Regions from separate parts of the Homo sapiens genome. Here region 2 is linked to region 1. The links are contacts of gene promoters, found by promoter capture Hi-C in blood cells and fetal thymus (Javierre and others, 2016). All regions are on one chromosome and are shown on one strand. Each heading gives the region's core, a stretch centred on a gene start or on the middle of the fragment in contact. The rest is flanking DNA. Distances are from core to core; before and after follow the strand shown. Region 1 holds the start of WNT8A (Wnt family member 8A). Region 2 overlaps BRD8 (bromodomain containing 8).

Region 1 (4,762 bases), core at 1,414-3,913:
CCTGGGCGCAAGCAATCCTCCCGTCTCAGCCTCCCAAAGTGCTGGGATTACAGGTGTGAGCCACTGCATCCAGCCAATGCTCTTCTATTTGAAAGAACAATGCATATTTTTTCAGCCTCCTTCCTTCATCCAGGCAGGAATGAACATCCCTATGTTAACCAATGGGGAAAGTAAAAACCAGAGATAGAATGATGAGGCCAATGTAATCCCAGCACTTTGGGAGGTTAAGTTGGGTGGATTGCTTGAGCTCAGGAGTTCGAGACCAGCCTGGGCAACATGACGAAACCCTGTCTCTACAAAAAATACAAAAATTAGCCGGGCATGGGGGTGCATGCCTATAGTCCCAGCTACTCAGGAGGCTGAAGTGGGAGAATTGCCTGAGCCTGGGAGGCAGAGGCTGCATTGAGCCAAGATCGCGCCACTGCAAACTAGCTTGGGTAAAAAAGTGAAACCCTGTCTCAAAAATAAATAAAGAAAGAAAGAAATAAAGAATGATGAGAACAAGACCACTTTCCAATTGTGGTGTTGGGATCGGGACCTTGCCCTCTTAGAGTCCAGCCTAGACCTCTGTCCACTAGCCACTGCTGCTAGTCTTTAGGCAGTGAGACTCAGGGCTTGATGCTGGCCTAGGAGAGAGAGGAGGACCTTTGCTGCTTCTGACTGGGAAGTTTGGGCCATGTAATAATCATAATCATCCTGACTGCCACCTACTGAACTCTTATCTTACTAAACTCTTTACAAACATTGTCACATTTTATTTCTACATACTCCCTATTCTATCTGTATACCCCATGGGGAGACATTTCTTTTGAACCTCATCTTTTTTTTTTTTTTTTTTTTTTGAGACAAGGTCTTGCTCTGTCACCCAGGCAGGAGTGTAGTGGTGTGATCATAGCTCACTATATCCTTGAACTCCTGGGTTCCAGAAATCCTCCCAACTCAGCCTTCCAGGTCTCTGGGACTACAGGCACATGCTACCATGCCGGCTAATATTTTTACTTTTATTTTTAGTAGAGACGAGGTCTTGCTATGTTGCCCAGGCTGGTCTCGAACTCCTGAACTCAAGCGATCCTCCTGCCTTAGCCTTCCAAAGTGCTGGGATTATAGGCATGGTTCCAACACGTGCTTAGCCACTTTCTCCGTCTTCTTTACTCTCGTTCCCCTAACTATTCTCAGGTGAATGTTATCTTCAAAAATGACATGCAAACTACGGCACACAGTTACAAATGGGTGCACGTGCACACCCATACACACACATAGACACACACCCCACCTGAGGCACAACTCAATGTGACGTCTCAGCTTTTCTGTTGAGATTTTATGGCAGTTAGCCATGTGAAACTTCCTCAGGAGCTGCAAACACACAGCCCTTTCCCCATTTTTATTTCATGCAACTCAGTGCAAGATCAGTGTGTACAAACGCACAAATATAGGCATGCATTTAAAAAATAGAGTAATTTCCGCTGGGCACGGTGGCTTACGCCTGTAATCCCAGCACTTTTGGAGGCTGAGGTGGGTGGATCACCTGAGGTCAGGAGTTTGAGACCAGCCTGGCCAACATGGTGAAACCCCATCTCTACTAAAAATACAAAAAATTAGCCAGGCATGTTGCATGCCTGTAATCCCAGCTACTCGGGAGGCTGAGGCAGGAGAATCACTTGAACTCCGGAGGCGGAAGTTGCGGTAAGCCGAGATTGCGCCATTGCACTCCAGCCTGGGCAACAGAGTGAGACTCCGTCTCAAAAAAAGAAAAAAAAAAAAGAGTAATTTCCTACATTTATCTCATACATAGAGACACCTCATACCCACCTCATTCAACCCATAGGATACTTCTGATGAACTAAACAGAACTGGCCTTACTGACCCAAATGACAAATCTGGGGCTGAGAGAGGGTAGGTAATTTACTCAAGGCCACACAGCAAGGAAATGGCAGGTCAGCAGGTCACTGGCAGCATTTTTATTTCACTGTGCAATACATGTCACACATATACACATACTGCAAGCCCCACTCCATTCACATATATACCCCTTGTACAGGTGAGTCCCACACAAACTTACCACTTCTCAGCCTGTTGTGGGTGGAGAGCTGAAGAGCATTTTCAGGGCAGTTCCAGCGTTCCCAAGCAAACTGGAACTTGCACTCCTCGATGCCACTCTGGGCACCCAAGGCCACACTAGTCGTGTAGGTCAGATAGGCCTGGCAAAGGGAAAAGGGCTGTGAGCTTCTGCCCGGTATGGGTCATCTGTGGTTGGGGGAGCAGGCAGGACTCAGATGGGCCAGCTCTCCATTAAGAATCAACCATGGGTTCCTCTGGGTGAGGGGCTCTGGCACTGTCCCCGCCCCTCTTTTCTCCAGAAGAGTCCCCTTAGGGCCCTCAGTGGGTAAAAACAGAAGCTGGAGATCATCCTACCTTGGGACCTGTTATCAGGAAATTGTTCACTGACCTACCAAAAAGAGAAAAAGTGAGGCAGAGGTGAATGGGGATGAGACAATGGGGGCCTCCTTGGCAAGGAGTGAGGGTTGGGAAAGGACTTACCAGGCAGAGGCACTGAATGCAGCACAGCATATGCCCAGAGCTGCCCAGAGCATAAACAGGTTCCCCATCGCCCTGCCTACCCCAGTGGACCAGGTCCAGCTCAGGGCCAAGTCCAGAGAAGTGAGGAGAGGGCAGGGTCTTCCTCAGTATTTATGTGAGAAAATTCTGAATGTCCAAGGGAGGAAATCAGCAGCTCTTCTCATTTGTTCCTAACTGGCAGGGCTGCAGGAGCCACCGGCCCAGTGGGGGATCTGGGAGGAGGGACTCAGTTTTCGCCAAAAGCCCCGCCCTGCCCAGCCCCTCCAGCCCTTCTTCCCTCCCAGAATGAGAAGGAGGCTGCTTTTCTCCTATACGTGAGATTTCTTTCTTCTATATGTCAATTTTGTCTCTTCCTGCTTCTTTGGCCCATTTCTCAGAATCATGTAGGCCAGAGCAGGCTGGGTCCTTAACCCTGAAGGCAGGTCACCTATTCTTGGAGCTACAGTGTCCTCATCTGTCAGTGAGAGCCCACTCTCTGTCCTGCCATCCTCCCCAAGGTGTTAATAATCATAAAGCAACTCCATCTGGGGCTGCTTCCTACTCATTTACCTAAACCAGTGAGTGCGCCATCCCTACCACTTCCTTCAAGGCTGTGAGGTGATGGAGCTGTGGGACTATGGAGCAGGAACACTTCAGAGTCCATCTCTGCAACAGTCCCTTCCACCACATTCTAGCAACTGCTGGGAAATTTCCTTAATTCCTAGCAAATCTATCCTTTTATATCTGAGGGTTACAACTCCAGTTAGTTGATTTTTTATATATCTGAGAACCAACCTTAGGGCCACCCAGGGTTATATTTGGGAAGACTGATGCCTTTCTCTTTTTTTTTTTTTTTTGAGACAGAGTCTCTCGCTCTGTCGCCCAGGCTGGAGTGCAGTGGTGCAATCTCAGCTCACTACAACCTCTGCCTCCTGGGTTCAAGTGATTCTCCTACCTCAGCCTCCCAAGTATCTGAGACTACAGGTGCCAGCCACCACACCCAGCTAAATTTTGTATTTTTAGTAGAGAAGGGGTTTCGCCAGTTGGCCAGCCTGGTCTTGAACTCCTGGGCTCAAGTGATCTGCCCACCTTGGCCTCCCAAAATGCTGGGATTATAGGCATGAGCCACTGGGCGTGGCCCTGATGCCTTTCTTTCTGATACTACTTTGTTACTAGGACTTCAGCTCCTTAGGTGGGAATCTGTCTTTTATTTTATTTTATTTATTTATTTATTTATTTATTTATTTATTTATTTATTTATTTTGAGATGGAGTCTCACTCTGTCGCCAGGCTGGAGTGCAGTGGCATGATCTCGGCTCACTGCAACCTCCACTTCCTGGGATCGAGCAATTCTCCTGCCTCAGCCTCCGGAGTAGCTGGGATTACAGGTGTGCGCCACCATGCCCAGCTAATTTTTGTATTTTTAGTAGAGACGGGTTTCACCATGTTGGCCGGGATGGTCTCGATCTCTTAATCTCGTGATCCACCTGCCTCGGCCTCCCAAAGTGCTGGGATTACAGGCGTGAGCCACCATACCCAGCCTTATTTTATTTTATTTTTTGAGGCAGAGTTTCACTCTTGTCACCCGGGCTGGAGTGCAAGTGTGCCATCTCAACTTACTGCAACCTCCACCTCTGTGTTCAAGTGATTCTCCTGCCTCAGCCTCCCCAGTAGCTGAGATTACAGGCATGTGCCACCATGTCCAGCTAATTTTGTACTTTTAGTAGAGACAGGGTTTCCCTATGTTGGCCAGGCTGGTCTCAAACTCCTGACATCAGGTGATCCACACGCCTTTGGCCTCCTGAAGTGCTGGGATTACAGGCATGAGCCACCGCACCCAGCCAGGAATGTCTTTTAGGTTCACTTTCGGTTCTTAGAGCTTAAGAAGGCACCTGGATGAACAAACGAAAGACCCTGTGACCCCTAGTGGGCACCATTAGGTATGCTTGGGGACTAGAACAAAAGGTGGGAAAGTCCTTCTTGGTTGCTGAAGCTCTTTCCTAAGGCTGGAGAAGGAAGTCTAGAGAAGTTCAGAGGAAAGCATAGATGGAAAGTCACAGTTCTGACTCCATCCTGTGACCATTACAACATCCAGATCACTTCCCAGAACTTTGGACCTGGTTTGGGTGGGAAGTGGAGCTCAGAGATCCCCCCACCAAAGGAGTTCCAGGGGCCAAAGAGTCCCCAGGTGTCTTTAGGGCATACT
Region 2 (4,762 bases), core at 1,125-3,624, 66 kb before region 1:
GGCTCACGCCTGTAATCCCAGCACTTTGGGAGGCTGAGGCCAGTGGATCACTTGAGGTTGGGAGTTCGAGACCAGCCTGGCCAACATGGTGAAACCCCATCTCTACTAAAAATACAAAAATGGCCGGGCGCAGTGGCTCATGCCTGTAATCCCAGCACTTTAGGAGGCCGAGGCGGGCGGATCACTTGAGGTCAGGAGTTCAAGACCAGCCTGGCCAACATGGTGAAACCCCATCTCTACTAAAAATACAAAAAATTAGCCGGGCGTGGTGGCGGGCGCCTGTAATCCCAGCTGCTCGGGAGGCTGAGGCAGGAGAATCACTTGAACCTGAGAGGCGGAGGTTGCAGTGAGCTGAGATCACACCATTGCACTCCAGCCTGGGCGACAGAGCGAAACTCTGTCTCTAAATAAATAAATTAATTAAAATTAAAATTAAAATTAAAAAATTAGCCGGGCTTGGTGGCATGTGCCTGTAATCCCAGCTACCTGGGAGGCTGAGGCAGGAGAATCGCTTGAACCCGGGAGGCGGAAGTTGCAGTGAGCTGAGATCGTGCCATTGGACTCCAGCCTAGGTAACAGAGCGAGACTCCGTCTCAAAAGTAAAAAAATTAAAAATAAAAAAATACATGCTTTTTGACTGAATTTCTAATACTTCAGTCATTAGGGGCCTGGGTCATAAGGACTGCTTTATGAGTATCCTTGTAATTCATGCTTTTGGAGTTGTGGGAAGTTATACTTGCCCAAATTTTCCTTGAAGCTTAAAATGCTGTAACTTTAAGGTAGTATTTTTAAGTGTCATTACCTTGGTTAAGGGCTGAGGACCAGAAATAAACAGAATTGGACAGAGAGTTATATGTATGCTGTTATTGAACACATTTAGAAGACCCTAGATCAAGATCAGCAAGCATCCATTTCAAATGTTGCCACTTCTCTCTACAAGTGTCTGTGGTAGACAAAATTTTCAACACTTTATTCTAGACAGCCACTCCCAATTGATCAGAGTTGACAGCTGAGATGAAAAAGTAGAACATAAACTCCTGGAAGAGGCAAGAACCATATCTTTCTTGTTCACTGTAGTGTCCCCACCAACCAGCCCAGTGCCTGTGTATATAAGATATTTTGGCAGATTTTAGATGATTGTATTAATTAAACCATTTTGTCCTCTCAGACTTAGTCACTGTGACAGTGTTAGCATGTGGCATTGTTGATATGTGGATGATGATTTTCAGTGGTGTTCCTGTGCATCTAATAATAAACTTTGATTGCAGGTAGCTTATTTAATGGAGCCCTTGTGCATCAGCAGCAACGAATCAAGTGAAGGCTGCTGCCCTCCATCTGGTACCAGACAAGAAGGAAGGGAAATTAAAGCTAGCGAAGGAGAAAGGGAGCTCTGCAGAGAGACTGAAGAGCTTTCAGCTAAAGGAGACCCCTTAGTAGCTGAAAAGCCACTGGGAGAAAATGGAAAGCCAGAGGTGGCTTCAGCTCCCTCAGTTATTTGTACAGTTCAGGGACTACTCACAGAGAGTGAAGAGGTAAGAAAGTAACTTAAATCAGCTGTCTTGTTGGTCTTCTGCCTAGGGAAGCAGAACAGAGTAGTTAGAGCACATAGGCTAACTCCAGAAAGTTAAACTACCTGGATCCAAATCCTGGATTTAGCACCAGTTTTAGCTGTGTTACCTTTAGCATGTTAGTGAACATTTTAGAACTTCAGTTTTCTCTGCAGAAATGCAATAATAGCACCCTATTTTGTGGGATTGCTGTGAGGTTTAAATGAGATAATTCATGTAAAGCACTTAGCACAGTGCCTGGCTTATAGTAAGCAATCAGTAAAATTTAGAATACCGTCATCATTATTAATATTATCTGGCAGGTGGGGTGCAATGGCTCATGCCTGTAATCCCAGTGCTTTGGGAGGCAGAGGCAGTAGGATCTCTTGAGCTCAGGAGTTCAAGACCAGTCTGGGCAATACAGGGAGACACCATCTCTACAAAAAACAAAAAACAAATTAGCCAGGTATGGTGGCATGTTCCTGTAGTTCCAGCTACTTAGGGGTCTCGGGGGAGCCCAGGAGTGCAAGGCTGCAGTGAGCCATGATGATGCTACTGCACTCCAGCCTGGGCAACAGAGTGAGACCCTGTCTCAAAAAAAAAAAAAAAATTATCTGGCCAGCTAGAGTAGTTAACTCCAGGGCCACAGGTGATCATGATGGTTTTTAAAGAATCCAATGAGAATTGGGCAAATAATGCTTTTCCATTTTGCTGGAGGTGAGTGGCACAGAGTCAAAGTCCTCCAGCAAGATTGTTACCAAGAACTCATTAACTTAAATCTAGTTAAGTCAGCTTTCTTTAATTTCTTTTGTAGCTTTATGTAATTGACCTCTTCTCACCTTAAGGGCAGCCTTCATTTACTCTATGCAAGTAAAATTACTATGCAGAAAGTAAATCTCCTTCTAAAGTTTCCTGTTTCCTGGCATTCCTAGGGGGAGGCTCAGCAAGAATCCAAAGGGGAGGACCAGGGTGAAGTATATGTGTCAGAGATGGAAGACCAGCCCCCTTCAGGCGAGTGTGATGATGCCTTTAACATTAAGGAGACTCCCTTGGTGGATACACTTTTCAGCCATGCTACCTCCTCAAAGCTGTAAGCGTAGACTTTCATCCAAGTTTGTTAAGATTCGTACTTCTGTTTATGCCTATTTGAATCATGAAATGGATTACTTTTATAAGTTAAAGAAAATTAGAGTTGGAAAACACAAAAAATATAATTAATTAAGTATAATTTTAACATCATATAAATAGAAGTCTATATGCTCTCCTGTTATAAAACAAATATGTTTAATCAATATTAGGACTGTCTTTCAAGGCTAGGTGTGGTGGCTCACACCTGTAATTCCAGCACTTTGGGAGGCCAAGGCAGGAGGATCCCTTGATCCCAGGACTTTGAGACCAGCCTGGGCAACATAGGGAGACCATGCCTCTACAAAATAAAAATTAAAAAAAAATTAGCCAGGTATGGTGTCACTTGTCTATAGTCTCAGGTACTCCGGAAGCTGAGGTGGGAGGATCACCTGAGCCCAGGAGGTCAAGCTGCAGTGAGCCATGATTGTGCCACTGTACTCTAGCCAAGTCTGTATCACTCCAGCCTGGGTGATGGAGCTAATATTATACAAACTATGCCTAATATACAAACTATGGTGCTTTTTTTTTCTTTAATAGAGACAGGGTCTAGCTCCATCACCCAGGCTGGAGTGCAATGGGCACGATCATGACTCACTGCAGCTTGACTTCCTGAACTCAAGGGATCCTCCCACCTCAGGCTTCCAAGTAGCTGGGAATACAGCCATGGGCCACCACACCCAGCTGATTTTTTATTTTTTGTAGACAGGGCTGGCCTTGCTATATTGCCCAGGCTTGTCTTGAACTCCTGGTTTCAAGTGATCCTCCTACCTCAGCCTCCTAAAGTGTTGGGATTACAGGCTTGAGCCACTGTGCCTGGCCCAAACTATACCTCTTTTAAAAATATTAAAATAGATTTTATGAACTTGAAATGGAAAATTATTTTGATGGAGACAAGGAAGAGGATAAAAAAATTTTTTTTTAAAGAAAAAATTAGGCCAGGCGCAGTGGCTCACACCTGTAATCTCAGCACTTTGGGAGGCAGAGGCAGGAGGATTGCTTGAGCTCAGGATTTTGAGACTAGCCTGGGCAATATAGTGAAACCTCATCTTTACAAAAAATAAACAAAATTTATTGGGTGTGGGGGCATGCACCTGTAGTCCTAGCTACACAGGAGGCCAAGGCAGGAGGACTGCTTGAACTTGGGAGGTGAAGGTTACAGTGAGCTATGATCATGTCACTACACAGCCTGGGTGACAGAGCAAGACCCTGTCTCAGAAAACAAAACAAGAAATAAAAGAGAAGAAAAAAATTATTTTGAAGTTTGTGATCTTTGTTTCTTTTTCACATCTCTTAGGGGATTGTTTATGTCAAGCTTGTCTAATCCCTAGCCTGCAGCCCAGGACAGCTTTGAATGTGGCCAAACACAAATTCTTAAAACATTATGAGATTTATGCACTGACCCTTTTTTTTTCCCTTTTTTTTTTCTTTTTTTTTTTTTTTTTCCAGCTCATCAGCTATTGTTAGTGTATTTTATGTGTGGTCCAAGACAATTCTTCTTCTTCCTCCAGTGTGGCCCAGGGAAGCCAAAAGATTGGACACCCCTGGTTTATGCAATTGTCTCATCTTTGTATAGATAATTATAGGACTAAATAACACATTTTCAAATCTTAATGGGGGCTGTTTTTTTTTAACAGGAAACCAAAAAAATATTAATTTTTTTTTTTGAGATAGGATCTCACTCTGTTGCCCAAGTTAGAGTGCAATGGCATGATCTTGGCTCACTTCAGCCTCCGCCTCCTGGGCTCAGGTGATCCTCTCACCTCAGCCTCATGAATAGCTGGGAACACAGATGTGCACCACCACAACCAGCTGATTTTTTTGTATTTTTGTTAGAGACAGGGTTTCATCACATTGACCAGACTGGTCTCAAACTCCTGGACTCAAGCGATCCCCTGCCTTGGCCTCCCAAAGTCCTGGGATTATAGGCATGAACTACTGCATCTGGCATGAAGTGAATTACTTTTTAAAGCAGAAAAACAAAGTTGTTTTTATCTGTGACTCCTGGCCTCAAGTGATTCTCCTGCCTCAGCCTTTCAAAGTGCTGAGATTATAGGCATGAGCCACTACGTCCAGCAAAGTTATTTTTG

The links. Contacts are between HindIII fragments. The CHiCAGO score rates a contact against its expected background, and 5 or more counts as called.
Region 2: a contact is called between a fragment that was not itself captured here and the fragment with the promoter of WNT8A in region 1, in 6 of 17 cell types (M2 macrophages, total B cells, M0 macrophages and 3 more). The highest score is 7.2, in M2 macrophages.

Annotation. Positions count from the first base shown.
Region 1 is chr5:138,081,934-138,086,695 of GRCh38, reverse strand. It overlaps WNT8A (Wnt family member 8A), which reads right to left and starts at 2,663. Exons shown (of 5, transcript NM_001300939.2): 1 at 2,413-2,663; 2 at 2,060-2,198. The coding sequence starts at 2,568. The HindIII fragment of the contact is 12,012 bases long and covers 1-4,762 here.
Region 2 is chr5:138,147,515-138,152,276 of GRCh38, reverse strand. It overlaps BRD8 (bromodomain containing 8), which reads left to right. Exons shown (of 27, transcript NM_139199.2): 22 at 1,269-1,532; 23 at 2,480-2,637. Among named protein-coding and RNA genes, the nearest start is that of NME5, 10 kb to the right of the region's middle. The HindIII fragment of the contact is 3,230 bases long and covers 760-3,989 here.